Linked DNA regions of Homo sapiens: regions 1 and 3 are each linked to region 2. Evidence: promoter capture Hi-C in 16 types of primary human blood cells and fetal thymus (Javierre and others, 2016). All regions are on one chromosome and are shown on one strand. The core of a region is centred on a gene start or on the middle of the fragment in contact, and the rest is flanking DNA. Distances in the headings are between cores, read along the strand shown. Region 1 overlaps PAQR8 (progestin and adipoQ receptor family member 8). Region 2 holds the start of ELOVL5 (ELOVL fatty acid elongase 5). Region 3 overlaps PAQR8 (progestin and adipoQ receptor family member 8).

Region 1 (4,695 bases), core at 396-2,895, 980 kb before region 2:
TTTTTAATTCATGAAAAGGAAATCTTTAATAATTATGCAAGTTAACAGGATAGAAAGCGATTTATTCATTTTACAAGAATCATTTCAGGATAAGCATATTTCCATTAAGGGTGTGTGTATACCTTATTGAGTGGTCAGGACCTTGCATCAAAATCTGCACTATCATTCCTGCAGCAGTGTACTTATTCACTTGGACGTAACACTTGCTGATGCTTCCAATTCTTTATCCAAATGTTAAAATAAATATGCCAGTATTTATACATTCAAATCAGTATTTCTCCCCTTCAAAAGCCTGCTCTTGGCAAGCTGTGTACTAATTCTAGTGATGCTGTCACTACTGAGAATAATTTTGGAGCTCCTGCTTTGGAGTTGCCTTCCGAGTTTGCAACACATTTCCTGATTGCCTCAGTGGTGGCAAACCTTCCTCAGCTGGGAAACAGCCAGGCACTGTGCGGGGCCAACTTGGGCTTCCGAGGTGGGGAATCGAGGTTGTCAATAAGTATGCTCATTAAAGTAATGAAAATTCTCTTGAAAGACTGGCAGTTCTAAAAGGGGCATTTAGTAATGGCATGGAGTATGTATTTAGGATTGGAAGGAATTACAGTTGGTCCCTGAATAACACCGGGGTTAGGGGCTCCCATCATCTCCACAGTGGAAATTTTGAGTACAACATTTAACTCCTCAAAAACTTAACTACTTTGAAGCACAACCTTCATTTTGGTGTTTATGCTCTGGTATGTATGTAAAGTAATTGGTCCTGTCACTTTATTGTTATAGCTTATGGCTTATTGGGCTAGAAAAAGTAAGCCTTTCTTTGCCCCTCCTGATACTTGTTACTAGGCAGTCTCTGTCATTGTGGATTTTTACAGAAAGCAAAACAAAAATACAAAAGACTTGTTGTCTCACCAAAAAAAAAAAGGTACCCAGAAAGCCATTTGCCCCAGCTGTAGGTAATGCCTGGTGCTTGATTTTTGATGTGAAAGGATCCACAGAAGTAAAGGGAAGAGAATGATTTCTGAACATTCATTTCAACTTTGGGATTTCATGGCACACAGTAAAAAATGTACTGAACATATCCCTTTTTAAAATTCGCATTTTTTTTTTCAGGTTGTGTTGCATAAAGCTTCATACAGCCACAGCTTGAATCTTGATCTAGCTGTGGTTTGGGGCAAGTTGTTTCATCTCTTTTGGCCTCAGTTTTCTTAAAATGAAGATATTAATGAGTATGTACCTCATGGGGCTGTGATGAAGATGAAATAACATTGATGCGTGTAGAACACTTGAGTTCGGTGCCGGACACATCATGAGTGCTCAACAGAGTCTACTTATTCTTGTTAGGAATATTATTTATTGATAGTCTTATGTTAAAATTCCTTTGAAGCCATGTGGAAATTTATCATTTCCCAGGTAATGATATTCCCTTCAGTTAGGTTTTGCAACTAACTACAAATAGAACATTTTGGTTTTTGCCCTCCTGGTCTTTTAAGAGTTTTTAAAGGGTAACCTGAAAAGCAACGACAATTAGTTATTTTTTATTTATTCAGAAACGAGGAAATACAGACTCCAAATAAGTGGAGTCAGTGCTCCCAGTTACTTTCTTTTGAATTCAGATTTTTTTTTTAAATGAGCATTCCTGTTATGATTGTATATTATGTATAACAGTTTGGTGTGGTAAGGCAAATCTGAAAGAAAAAAGTTTAAAAGCCTCTTCTCTAATTTTTTTCCCTTCATCCAATGAAAATATTATTCTAACGAAACAGCTACAGTTCTCTTGGCACGTATTGAAAGAGACGATTCTGGTAAACATTCCCTTCATTCCAAATGTGAGTTTTGCTCTGCTGTGTTTTTTAAACAATAGGGAAGAATAGCCTGGCACTGAAATCTCAGCTCTTCTGTAAATGTCAACACTAGTTTTTTTTCAAGTTTATAAATTTTATTTTATATATATATGTACATATATTAGAAAGATGGGAAAGTTTCATCTTAATTTTAATCAGATGATTAGGGGCTGCTATGAAATAGTTAATGTTTCATGAAATGTTGACCATTTAGTGAGAATTCTCTGTTCTAGGCAAGCAAGTGCTGGAGATGGAGAGGCTTGAGACACAGGCTTTGCCCTTCAGAAGTTCATTCACATCATGTGCTCTCTTACAATGATGCAGGAACAAAAGCTTCTTCTCCTAATGGCCTGTGGAGCTAAGAATTCATATGGATTTTACTACATGATATTTTCCTTCAATTTCTCAAAGAAGGGTAAATAGGTGGATCTCTCAATAGTGTTCATATTTTTGAGGTGGATTAACTCTTTCAAAATTAGATCCCAATATGTACTCAGAGGCCATAAAAGGAGAAAATAGCTATAATTAGTGAATTACAAAGTATATCTGCAGGATGGGGTGGTATTATTGCTATACGAAACTTTCCTGGAATGTTGTGTTTGGTTTTTGCTCTGTCTTCTGAGTAGCGGTTTATGTACTTGTAAAGGACCAGGAAACAATATACATTGTGGCTTAGACTGGAGCCATGATTCTTTTTTTTTTGAGATGAAGTCTCCCTCTGTCACCCAGGCTGGAGTGCAATGGCGCAATCTCGGCTCACTGCAACCTCCATCTCCTGGGTTCAAGCAATTATCCTGCCTCAGCCTCCTGAGTAGCTGGGATTGCAGGCGCGCACCACCACACCCAGCTAATTTTTGTATTTTTGTAATTTTTGACCACCATGTTGGTCAGGCTGGTCTCGAACTCCTGACCTCGTGATCTGCCCATCTTGGCCTCCCAAAGTGCTGGGATTACAGGCGTAAACCACTGTGCCCAGCCTGGAGCTGTGATTCTTAATGGGGAGAAGTGGGTGGTGAATTTGCCCCTTTCCCCCAGAGGATGAAATTTGGTGGTGTCTGGAGACATTTTTGATTGTCATACCTGGAGGGGGAGGGATGTTACTGGCATCTAATGAGTGGAGTCCAGAGATGCTGCTAACCATCCTAAAATGCACAGGACAGCCCCGCACAACAAACAGTTATCTGGTTCAAAACATCAGTAGTGCTGAGAAGCCCTTGGCTAGAGCGTGGGATTTGGAGTAAAAATAAACCTGCATTAGCACCCTGACACCACCATTTCTTAACTGTGCCACCCTGGGTGTGTTACTTAATCTGAGTATCCATAGGATGCATATCTGAAGAGATGTGAGTTAGAGTGTGTATGAAATGCTTAACACACAGAAGGATCGCAATAAGTGTCAACTCTTAGTATCATGACTGGTAGATCTAGGTCAAAATCCAAAGACTGTGCTTTAAACAGACACAGCTTTTGTTTCTTAACCTATTATGTACAGAAAGAATTCAGGTTTCTTGTTTTCATTTGTGTGCCCAAGGATAGGGCAGGGGCACAGATGTAGGGCCTCCAGCGTCTCTGGTACCTTCTGCATTTTGTCCTAGGTTCTGCCAGACAGCTAAGTGTACTCTGCAGATCAACCACGCAAACAGGACAGTCCCCCAGACTTGTGTAGAGGAAAGATGAGGATGGAGGAGCTTTCTGTTCCATGTGGGCTACACTTGGAAGGGGGAGATAGCCAGGCCAGGAAGCTCCTTCTGATTGAACTTATTATCTCCCAGGCTTCTGAAGGCTCTTCTCAGACCCTTGTCTAGACATGACCAGAGAGTTTCCTTTGCTGTGTGAGCAGGTGAGGAGGTCTGGCCATTTCCCTCCCCTTTGCTTTTCTTTAGCCAGGTATGGTGATTCATGCCTGTAATCCCAGCACTTTGGGAAGCTGAGATGGGAAGATCGCTTGAGCCCCAGGAGTTCAAGACCAGCCTGGGCAACATGGCAAGACCCCATCTCTACAAAATATACAAAAAATAGCCAGGTGTGGTGGCACGTGCCTGTAGTCCCAACTACTTGGGACGTGCACACACACACACACGAGCCACATGAGTGAGTAATCAACTCAGTAACAAGCAGATCTTCAGCAAACGGGCAAGTGGAGCAAATTCTGGGCACAGAGAATGTTTAGCAGATAAGGATGTAAATAAGTAACAGTGTTTTCTTAGCTGTGATCTAGAAACCATTGGTACTGTGGTTCTCAGTCCTGGCTATAGGATAGAATCACCTGGGGTTGTCCAAGAATATTGATGCCCTAGCCCCACCCCAGACCATTGTTTGCGAGTCAAGGTGAGTAGCACCTGGGTATCAGATTTTTTTAATTTTTGGGTGTGAGTTGAGGGTCAAGGACCACTGCCGTGTGAAATGCATGACTTGTATTTAAAAAAAAAGAAGAAAAGGGAATTAAAAATATCTAAGTAACGTAAGTGTTGTTAAACTTTTGTTTAGTCTTGGGTATATGTTGGCTTCTAATTGGTTGTGGTCAAAGTTTGAAAAACATTGTTTTAGAACCTTAGAGGTGTTTAATTAATACTGATAAATTTACCTCATTCAATATTTCTGTGTGCACATCTGCTGGACAGTTTTCAAAGTAGTTTTATATATCTTCTCAAATATGACTTTTGCTACCATCCCATGAGGCATAAAGAGCAAATATACTGATTTTTTTTTAACAGATGAAGAGTGATATGGTTTAGCTCTGTGTCTCCCACCCAAATCTCACCTTGAATTGTATAATCCCCACGTGTCAAGGGCGGGACCAGGTGGAAATAATTAAATCATGGGGGCAGTTTTCCCCATGCTGTTCTCATGATAGTGA
Region 2 (4,498 bases), core at 257-2,756:
TTCTATCTGTAGATTCTGCACGAAATGCTTTTGGCTGAGACGTGCAAGCAAAACAAGTGCAGACCAACAGGTTATCTGCCAAGCGGTTAGGAGAATGAGTTACAAAACCTGACAAGCAACATCAGCTCTTCCGTACAATTCTATGAAGCACTTCCTGCCACGGGTCCCGCTATTTAAAACAAATTAGGCTGCTCGCTCCCCACAAATCCCATCTAGCACCTCTCGGTTCCTCAGTCTAGCTAATAAACCATGCACTGGATTCTTCCGAAAGAGACCCCCCGCCCCCGACCCCGCCACCTCCGCCACTTTGCATAACTGGCCAAATGCATTCTCCAAATTTGCAATCAAGGAGCTTAATTCACAATTGTGGATGGGGCGGGGGGAACCGCCAAGTGCAAGAACACGGAACGGTTGCAAGACGCAGTTCAGCAAGAACAACTCTTGCTCTAGGCATTGCTCCGTCGACCCGAGGTGGTGGGGTGGGAGAGTCTTACCGGCGTGGAAACAGTAAAAAGGCACTTTTCCTTACAACTCGCAAGACAACACACACTCTAGCTCCCCCGGCGCAGAGCACAACCGCCCCCCCGCCGCGCGCCTCCCTCGCAGCCAACCGCTCCCGCCTCTCCAGGGATCAGGCTCCCAGAAAGGGCCGCCCCGGTCGCCCCCGAGTCCCCGCCCTCTCGCTTTCCCACCAGCCTCATCCCTCCCTGAGTACCAAGGGCTGCCGTTGTCTGGTTTCAATAAAAACTGAAGCGGTCCCGAGCTAGCAGGCTTCCCTCCGAGGGGCGGACGGAAGGTCCGCAGGGTTAACGGAAGCGGAGAGAACAGGACAAAAAGGAAAGGCCGGAGAGTCCCCCCAGCGGCGCCCGGTGCCCGCAGACCCTCGCACAGGCTCTTCGAACTCACCCGGGTTTCGCCGACTCCAAAGAAAGCGCGCTCCCTCCGAGAGCGCTCCCCCGGCTCTCCCGCCGCGCGCTCCGGCCCGCAGGGCGGGAGGACCCAGGCGGACAGATCCATCCCTCCGCGTCTGGTGTGGGCACGGTGTCGTGCCCCGCGGCGCCTGTCAGCGCGCACAGGTGGGACCGCAGCACAGAGAACGCTCCCGAGCGCCCTGCCTCAGCCTCGGCGTGGGGCGAGCCGCCCGCGCCCGCACCCGCACCCCTTTCCCCGCGCCCGAGGAGCCGGGCTGTACCCCGGAGCCGGCGGAGCTGGAGGCCGCGGGCGGAGCGCGGGTTGCCCCGGCAGCTCTTTCTCGGCACCAGGTCCGAGACCTAACGGCAGTTCTCTCTGACCGCTTCCCGGCCGCGCGCTCGCGCGGGTGTCATGGCCGAGCGGCGGCCCCCGACGAAGTTTCCCGGAGCTGACGGCTTTACCTTTTAGCCCAAGGGGCGGCAGCAGCTTTGAGCAGCAGCAAGGCGGCGGCGGCGGAGGGAGCGCGGGTGGCAGCCGGCGCAGAGGCGGATGTAGAAGGAGACACCGGTGGCTAGGACCCGCGCGATGGGAAGAGGAAGGCGCCGGCTATCTACAATCAGAACGTGGGCTGACCGTGACGTCACAATGGCGCGGCCAGCCAATCGGGACCCGAAGGATGAATCAAGCGCTATGATGTCATGCGGCCCGGGAGCCAATCGCGGGACAATAGAACTTTCGTGATCGTAAATTCCAGAATCCGATGCGGTGGAGAGCCTAGGCCGGGGTTGGCCCCTCGGTTCCACGTGTCTCTGGGAAATTTTTTTCCCCTTTCTTCCTAATAAGCCTGCGTGGAACGCAGAGCCTGCGCAATAGCCCCGGTGAAGTTGTCGATGCCCTGAACTCTGGTTTTTTTACTGCCAGGCGTGGCAGGAGTCTGTGGCCGCATTTGGGTGGCAGAAGCCCACCCTCGTTACGGTCTCCTCTATGAGTTATGTCATGCTGAAGGGGATCCACTTCATCGTTAAAGCTGAAAGGGTTAAATGCCCACGGAGACCGCCGGAGTGAAGGTCTGCAGTTGAACAAGATAAAGGAACAAGAACAAAACGACTCAAAACTGTTGTAACCATAACTCCCTTGCAAAGGATTTACCGTGTATTTTTCTTAGGGATTCTGATTTTTCTTTGGAAGCCACTATCAACTCCATTTCTACTCTAGAAATTATTCTAAAGGATTGTTAAATGAGGAAAGATGGAATCAGTGTCTTTTCAGCTAAGCATATTTAAGCACTTAAGACAAAGGGGGTTCAGGGCATAAACGGAAGATCCTTGCTGTTTTTCACTGATATTTGGATAATTAAAGACCTTCATTAGCTTTGTATCCTACTGTTTCCCCATTCAAACCCCAGAGATTTAGCCTTTCTTCGTGTGCCCCTCTTGCTGTATTCTTACTCCTCTATGTGCATCCACCTAACAGTCGGCTATTTAATGTAGGCAAATTTATTCTTTTTTTTCTTTTTTTTTCTTTTTTGAGACAGAGTCTCGCTCTGTTGCCCAGGCTGGAGTGCAGTGGCGCGATCTCAGCTCACTGCAACCTCCACCTTCCGGGTTCAAGCGATTCTCCTGCCTCAGCCTCCCAAGTAGCTGGAATTACAGGCACGCGCCACCACACCCGACTAATTTTTGTATTTTTAGTAGAGATGAGGTTTCGCCATGTTGGCCAGGCTGGTCTCGAACTCCTGACCTCAGGTAATCCGCTCGCCTCAGCTTGCCAAAGTGCTGGGATTACAGACGTGAGTCACCGAGCCTGGCCGGCAAATTTATTCTTTTACATATTTACAATGTAATGCTTATCACGTGCCAGCTGTGTTCCAGGCAGTGGGCCATTGCAATAGGAATGCAAGTATACAAACCATGTACAAATTAAGTAAATTAAACATATACAAAGAATCGAGATTGTCAGTTGCCATTGAGCTCCACAAACACTGAATGACTTCAATTTGCTAGATACTATGTTAGGTATTCAAAATTTGAAACCTTCAAGGACTTCTTGGGCCTGGAAAATGATACAGTCAGGAAGCAACTACAATGCAGAGTGGTAAATGCTGCTATGGACATCAAGGGACATGAGAAAAGCATATGCTGGTGGCATAGACTATTTTTTTGAGATATCTCCTTCATTCTTCACGCTTCTGCCAGTAGTCCAAGGCCAGGGTTCATCTCTGTCATCCCATCTAAGTTTTGCCTTTCCAGGTTTTAAAAGTTTCTAATTTAACTTGAGATTCCAAAAGTCTTAAGTTTTACGCCGCACTTGTTTGAATTGTGCTTACCTATCAATAAAATGTTTTAAGCCCATTTGACCAAAATATCTTTAAGTTCAGGCTTATATAACTGTCAAGCTATGCATTAAATATCAAGTGATTTTTCTTATTGTATGATTAAGTATGACGTTTTGCTGTTTTTTCCCATCCCCCAAAGGCTGCGTTTTTACACAGTTCTTTGTTGATGTGTGTATCTTGGTTTCCATTATAGCATCACCACCCTGTATTGTAGTTGCTTTCTGATGGCATCATCTCACTCAATCCTTGGGGTATATGTACCCCACTTTAAAGACCACCGCTTTAGGTAGTAAACTCCGTTGAAGGGGAAAACATGTTGAATTTTGCTCCTTATTGATCTGTAGATCTTAGTACAATCCCTGGCATATAAGGGCTCAATAAATACGTGTTAGATGAGTGAATCTGTGAACAGTTACTCCCCCTCACCATCACCATCACTTTTCAGCTCCAGAGTTCCAATCCTCTGTCAGATAGTCACATCCCAGGATTATTAGATTATTAACTCCTCTCAAACATGTTGGTACGGTCATGTTCTCATTAGTTCTCCAGCCAGAGACTTAGAGTTCTCAGAACATATATATATATGCAAATGTATTATTTTACATATTACAATGTAATGTTTATCATGTGTCATATATCTCTGGGGGAAACTTCCTCCCACCCTAACAATTACTTCGTATTTCTGCATCATTGCACTCATGAGTAAAGCTGTAAGAAAAACAGTGGAGCCGAAACGACTCCCCAACTTAACTGTGGGATTTTTTCCAAATAAATCAAAAGAATACCTAGGATCCAATGCCAGGCTTACTAAATAACAGGGCTCAAGGAACCTGTTTTAGGTAGCATCAGAATCAGATTCCTGGCCAGCTGGGTTCTGGAAACTGTGCTGAAGCCATCCTTGCCCTTCTAACCCACCTATCCAACAATGTGAGCCCATGTAAGGTACAGTTAACAAAACCTTGTAACTATTACCTGTTTGTTCATAGCATCCACATGGTAGTCCCCCAAGAAATGATTGTTGAATTATCTTCATTCAATAGCTAACTATTAATATTTTCTTCTTTCTCCTTCATGTATTTATTTATTTATTTATTTATTTATTTTTGAGATGGAGTTTCGCTCTTGTTGCTCAGGCTGGGGTGCAATGGCACGATCTTGGCTCATTGCAACCTCCACCTCCCAGGTTCAAGCAATTCTCCTGCCTCAGCCTCCCAAGTAGCTGGGAGCGCCCGCCACCACACCTGGCTAATT
Region 3 (4,262 bases), core at 102-2,601, 960 kb before region 2:
TACTGATCTGAACTGAGTAGATTGACTTTTCAAATGAAGCTCTTCTATGGAATAACTAATGATTTTTTTTTTTGAGACGGAGTCTCACTCTGTCACCCAGGCTGCAGTGCAGTGGCACAATCTTGGCTCACTTCTCTGCAACTGATTATTAATTACTACTTCTAATTACAGAAAAGGCCACACTGGGAAGTGGAGCAGGGTCTTCAGGGGTGCCCTTAGGAAAGAGCCCTGATGGGATGTCTTGGGAGAGAAGGCTCTGGATAGTGCTCCTGGGTCACTACAGTGAGCCAGGATTCCTAGTCCATCAGCAGCTCAGAGATGGACAAGCACTATCTTCTCATCTAATACTTCCTTTTCATTCACAGCTGATAGATGTTCTTTCACAAAGACGCAGTCAGTTGGCTGGACTCTTGGGACACGGGTCAGAATTATTGGGGTCTGCCCATACCTTATTGTTGATTTGGTTTAGGGCTTTGAATAGGTCACTTAAATTCAGTGTACCTCAGTTATTCTCACAATCAAGTAACACAAGCTAAAATCTTTGAAAAAATATTTTGAATAACTTCCTTATGCAACCCAATGAATTTCACAATTTAATATAAAGGAAGACACATGTATAGCCAGTTATAGCATAATGCTAAGAGGATGCTATAAACTGAAGTGTCTCCCCAAATTAATATGTTGAAATCCTAACCCCTAATGTAAGGATATTAGGGGGTGGGGCCGTTAGGAGGTGATCACCTAGATCAGGGATCCCCCAACCCCCAGTACCTGTCTGTGGCCTGTTAGGAACTGAGCTGCACAGCAGGAGGTGATCAGTGGGCGAGTAAGCAAAGCTTCATCAGTATTTACAGCCGCTCTGCTTTGCTGGCTTTACTGCCTGAGTTCCTGTCAGATCAGCAGCAGCATTAGATTTTCATAGGCGTGCCAATCCTATTGTGAACTGCACATGCAAAGGATCTAGGTTGTACTCTCCTTATGAAAATCTAATGCCTGATGATCTGTTACTGTCTGCCATCACCCCAGATGGGACCGTCTAGTTGCAGTAAAACAAGCTGAGGGCTCCCAGTGATTCTACATTATGGTGAGTTGTATAATTATTTCCTTATATATTATAATGTAAAAATAATAGAAATAGGCTGGATCCGGTAGCTCATGCCTGTAATCCCAGCGCCTTGGGAAGCCAAGGTGGGCGGGTCACTTGAGGTCAGGAGTTTGAGACCAGCCTGGCCAACATGGCGAAACCCCATCTCTACTAAAAATACAAAAATCAGCTAGGTGTGGTGGTGCATGCCTGTAATCCCAGCTACTTGGGTGGCTGAGGCACAAGAATGGCTTGAGCCTGGGAGGTGGAGGTTGCAGTGAGCTGAGTTGGCATCACTGCACTCCAGCCTGGGCAACAGAGCAAGACCCTGTGTCAGGAAAAAAAAAAAAAAGCAATAAATGTAATGGGTTTGAATCATCATGAAACCATACTCCTCAACCCCCAGCCCCCATACGTGGAAAAATTGTCTTCCATGAAATTGGTCCCTGGTGCTGAAAAGGTTGGGGACCACTGACCTAGATGAATGCCTAGATGAATGGTATTACTGCCTTTATAAAAGAAACTCAGGAGAGCTCCCTTGCCTCTTCTGCCATGTGAGGACATAACAAGAAGACAGTCATGTTTGAACCAGAAGTGGGCCCTCACTGGACACCAAATCTGCTGGTGCCTTCATCTTGGACTTTTGCAGCCTCTAGAAACTGTGAAAAATAGATTTCTGTTGTTTATAAGCCACCTAGTCTTTGATATTTCCTTACAGCACCCTGAATGGACAAAGACAGAGGGCTTAATAAGACATGATGAGTTCTACTTCAGGCTGTCGCTAAGCTTCACAGGGGAGGGGTTATATCTGAGCCTGAATTTGAGAGAGAAGTGGGTTTTGCCAGGCACAGCAGGCTACAATAACATTGGCGATGTCAAGTGTGTGGCTTGTTCAGGCAATCAGGACAGTCTGTTCTGCCTTTTGTATGCAACAAGAATAAAAACGAGTTCTAACAGTGCTCCAGTGTTATTTTACATTATGTTTCTCTGCCTGGCCCCTCCTTTTCCTAAGTCTTTGCTTAGGCATTCTTGGTCATAAAAATGACAAATGGTAGGAGATGATAGACCAAAAACAAGCTGATGGTTAGAAATTCAGCCAGCAATTTAAATATTGGTGCGGATACCTAGCAAGTGGATGAACCACACAAATAAATAAGATCCAACTCAAATGGTGTTTTCTTTTGAAAACCCACATTTTCGTTTTCTTAGATCTCACTGGTTTTTACCTTTAGAAGCAGGCAAAGGATAGTCATTCACTTTGTTTTTGAACAATGATCTATTGACACATTCTGGGGACATCTTTCCTCTGACTGTTTGCTGATAGAAATAAAGCATAGGTAAGCCAGTGTTCCTGTCTCCAGAGGCTTGCAATTCAATAAGCAGAAGAGAGAAGGCTCTCTACACACACAGTAGTGAAGTAATGGGCAAGCCTGATGTTCTCCTTACCAAAATATGTGGAATAGATAGATAAGGGTTGGGGGCGGGGGAGGAATCAAGATGGCCTGGAGAAGGCTTTGTGGTGATTTGGAATTGAACTAAGGCCTTGGAGATATCTAAGGAGAAATGAAGAATAAAGTGACTTGCTTGACTCTTTATAGCAAATAAAATTGCTGGGTCTTAGAACCACCAGGAGAGTGTACTGTTGTCACTGCAGAAGAGTTAATGTTTAATTGCTAGGGAACACAGCTTTCTTTATATGGTGCTCCAAACTCTAGCTCGATTTGTTATCTGATTTTCTGCTGTGGAAAGGGCATTTCCAAGATTGATTTCCTGCCAGTGGAAATGAGCAGCTCTCTTCACGTTCACCCGGGTTGGCCCGGGTCCCAGCTGGTTTGCAGATCAGTGATGAAGCTTCCTGCCGGTGAGAAGCTAGATCTAGTTGAGAGGTTGCCTGACTGAAGCCAAACCACACCTAACGAAGCCGATAGTTACACTCATGTAGAAAGTCCAGGGAGACACCTGTCCCTAGGCTTTAATTAGTGGGAGTTTCAGACAGCAAAGTTTACCTTTACTCAAACAAGAAGCCTCAGAAGAACATGATCTTCACACCTGAACTGTTGATTGCCTGGAGACTGCTCAGTGTGTTCTCCCAGTAAATTGTTCCCAGCTCCTCTGACTTCTCCCACTCGACAGATTAAACACAGATACTATTTATTCCATGTGGCAGATGCATTCTCTGTCTGTAATGATGCATTTTGAAACCAGTACTTTCTCAAGTGAGATTAGCTGAGATGTGGAAAGTATAGGAAGTGACAGAACAGACAGAAATTCTAGCTAGAGGGTTCTAGTTAGATAAAGAGAAAAAGGCACTCAGAGGAAATTTGCTCTGCTCATCTTTCCCAGGGCACAGCAACAAATTAAGGCTGTCTTTTCTTTCTCCTCTTAGGAATATTATAGGGCACCACAGAGGAAAAGATTCATAAGTGGAGAGCTCACTGAGCCCAGAAGGACACATCTTGCTGCCAGATCTGTGGCAAAAAGGTGTACCTTACTTTTTTTTTATAGGCACGGTTCAGCCGTACCACAAACCCACATGGTCAGGAAGTGACTCACGTATTAATGCCGTTTGAGTTTGTGTGCTGTGGGGAAGGTCTTTTGACAATATTGTGTATACTGGCTTTTCCAATCTAAGAGAACATCTTTGCTGCATTAACAGTAGATGTTACATATTTTTTTCCCTTTAAACCCCCCATGACCAATAGCTTACCCTATGGCAAGTATAGTTAGGTTACTCGTAATAATTAATTTGGTATGCTAACTAGTTGAGCTCACAGAAAAATGCAAGTATGGGTGTATTCCTTTATAATGCTGGGGTGTTTCTTGGGGAGGGTCTTAATATTTTACCAACTTAGGTTTTACCAATTTTTGCATATTTATGTCAAATATTCCTATTTGCAGAGTAGTACTAACTTTTGCTTTCCAATTACAAAAGTAGTAAATGTTTGTTGTTAAAAAGTACGATAATGATAGTATTTCCAGAAGAAAAGTAAAATTCCCCACAATCCCTTCATGGCAATAGCTATATTGTTTTGATTATATGCACTTCCATACTTCATCTGTACCATGTTTGTATGATTACAAAAATAGGGCTGGGCGGAACACATACTTTAAATTTGTTTTTTCCTTTACATGTCTTTGACTCATTTATTCATTCAAGAAATCTTTTTTGAGAATGTAC

What was found. The method cuts DNA at HindIII sites, captures the fragments that hold promoters and counts their contacts. A CHiCAGO score of 5 or more calls a contact.
Region 1: a contact is called between a fragment that was not itself captured here and the fragment with the promoter of ELOVL5 in region 2, in 1 of 17 cell types (activated CD4 T cells). The highest score is 5.6, in activated CD4 T cells.
Region 3: a contact is called between a fragment that was not itself captured here and the fragment with the promoter of ELOVL5 in region 2, in 1 of 17 cell types (non-activated CD4 T cells). The highest score is 5.1, in non-activated CD4 T cells.

What each region holds. Positions count from the first base shown.
Region 1 is chr6:52,364,228-52,368,922 of GRCh38, forward strand. All of the region lies in intron 1 of PAQR8 (progestin and adipoQ receptor family member 8), which reads left to right. Among named protein-coding and RNA genes, the nearest start is that of PAQR8, 4.4 kb to the left of the region's middle. The HindIII fragment of the contact is 1,048 bases long and covers 1,122-2,169 here.
Region 2 is chr6:53,347,444-53,351,941 of GRCh38, forward strand. It overlaps ELOVL5 (ELOVL fatty acid elongase 5), which reads right to left and starts at 1,507. Exons shown (of 8, transcript NM_021814.5): 1 at 1,374-1,507. RefSeq lists a silencer at 908-1,347. The HindIII fragment of the contact is 17,438 bases long and covers 1-4,498 here.
Region 3 is chr6:52,386,957-52,391,218 of GRCh38, forward strand. The region is part of intron 1 of PAQR8 (progestin and adipoQ receptor family member 8); the gene reads left to right. Among named protein-coding and RNA genes, the nearest start is that of PAQR8, 27 kb to the left of the region's middle. RefSeq lists enhancers at 1,974-4,262, 3,100-3,309. The HindIII fragment of the contact is 1,034 bases long and covers 835-1,868 here.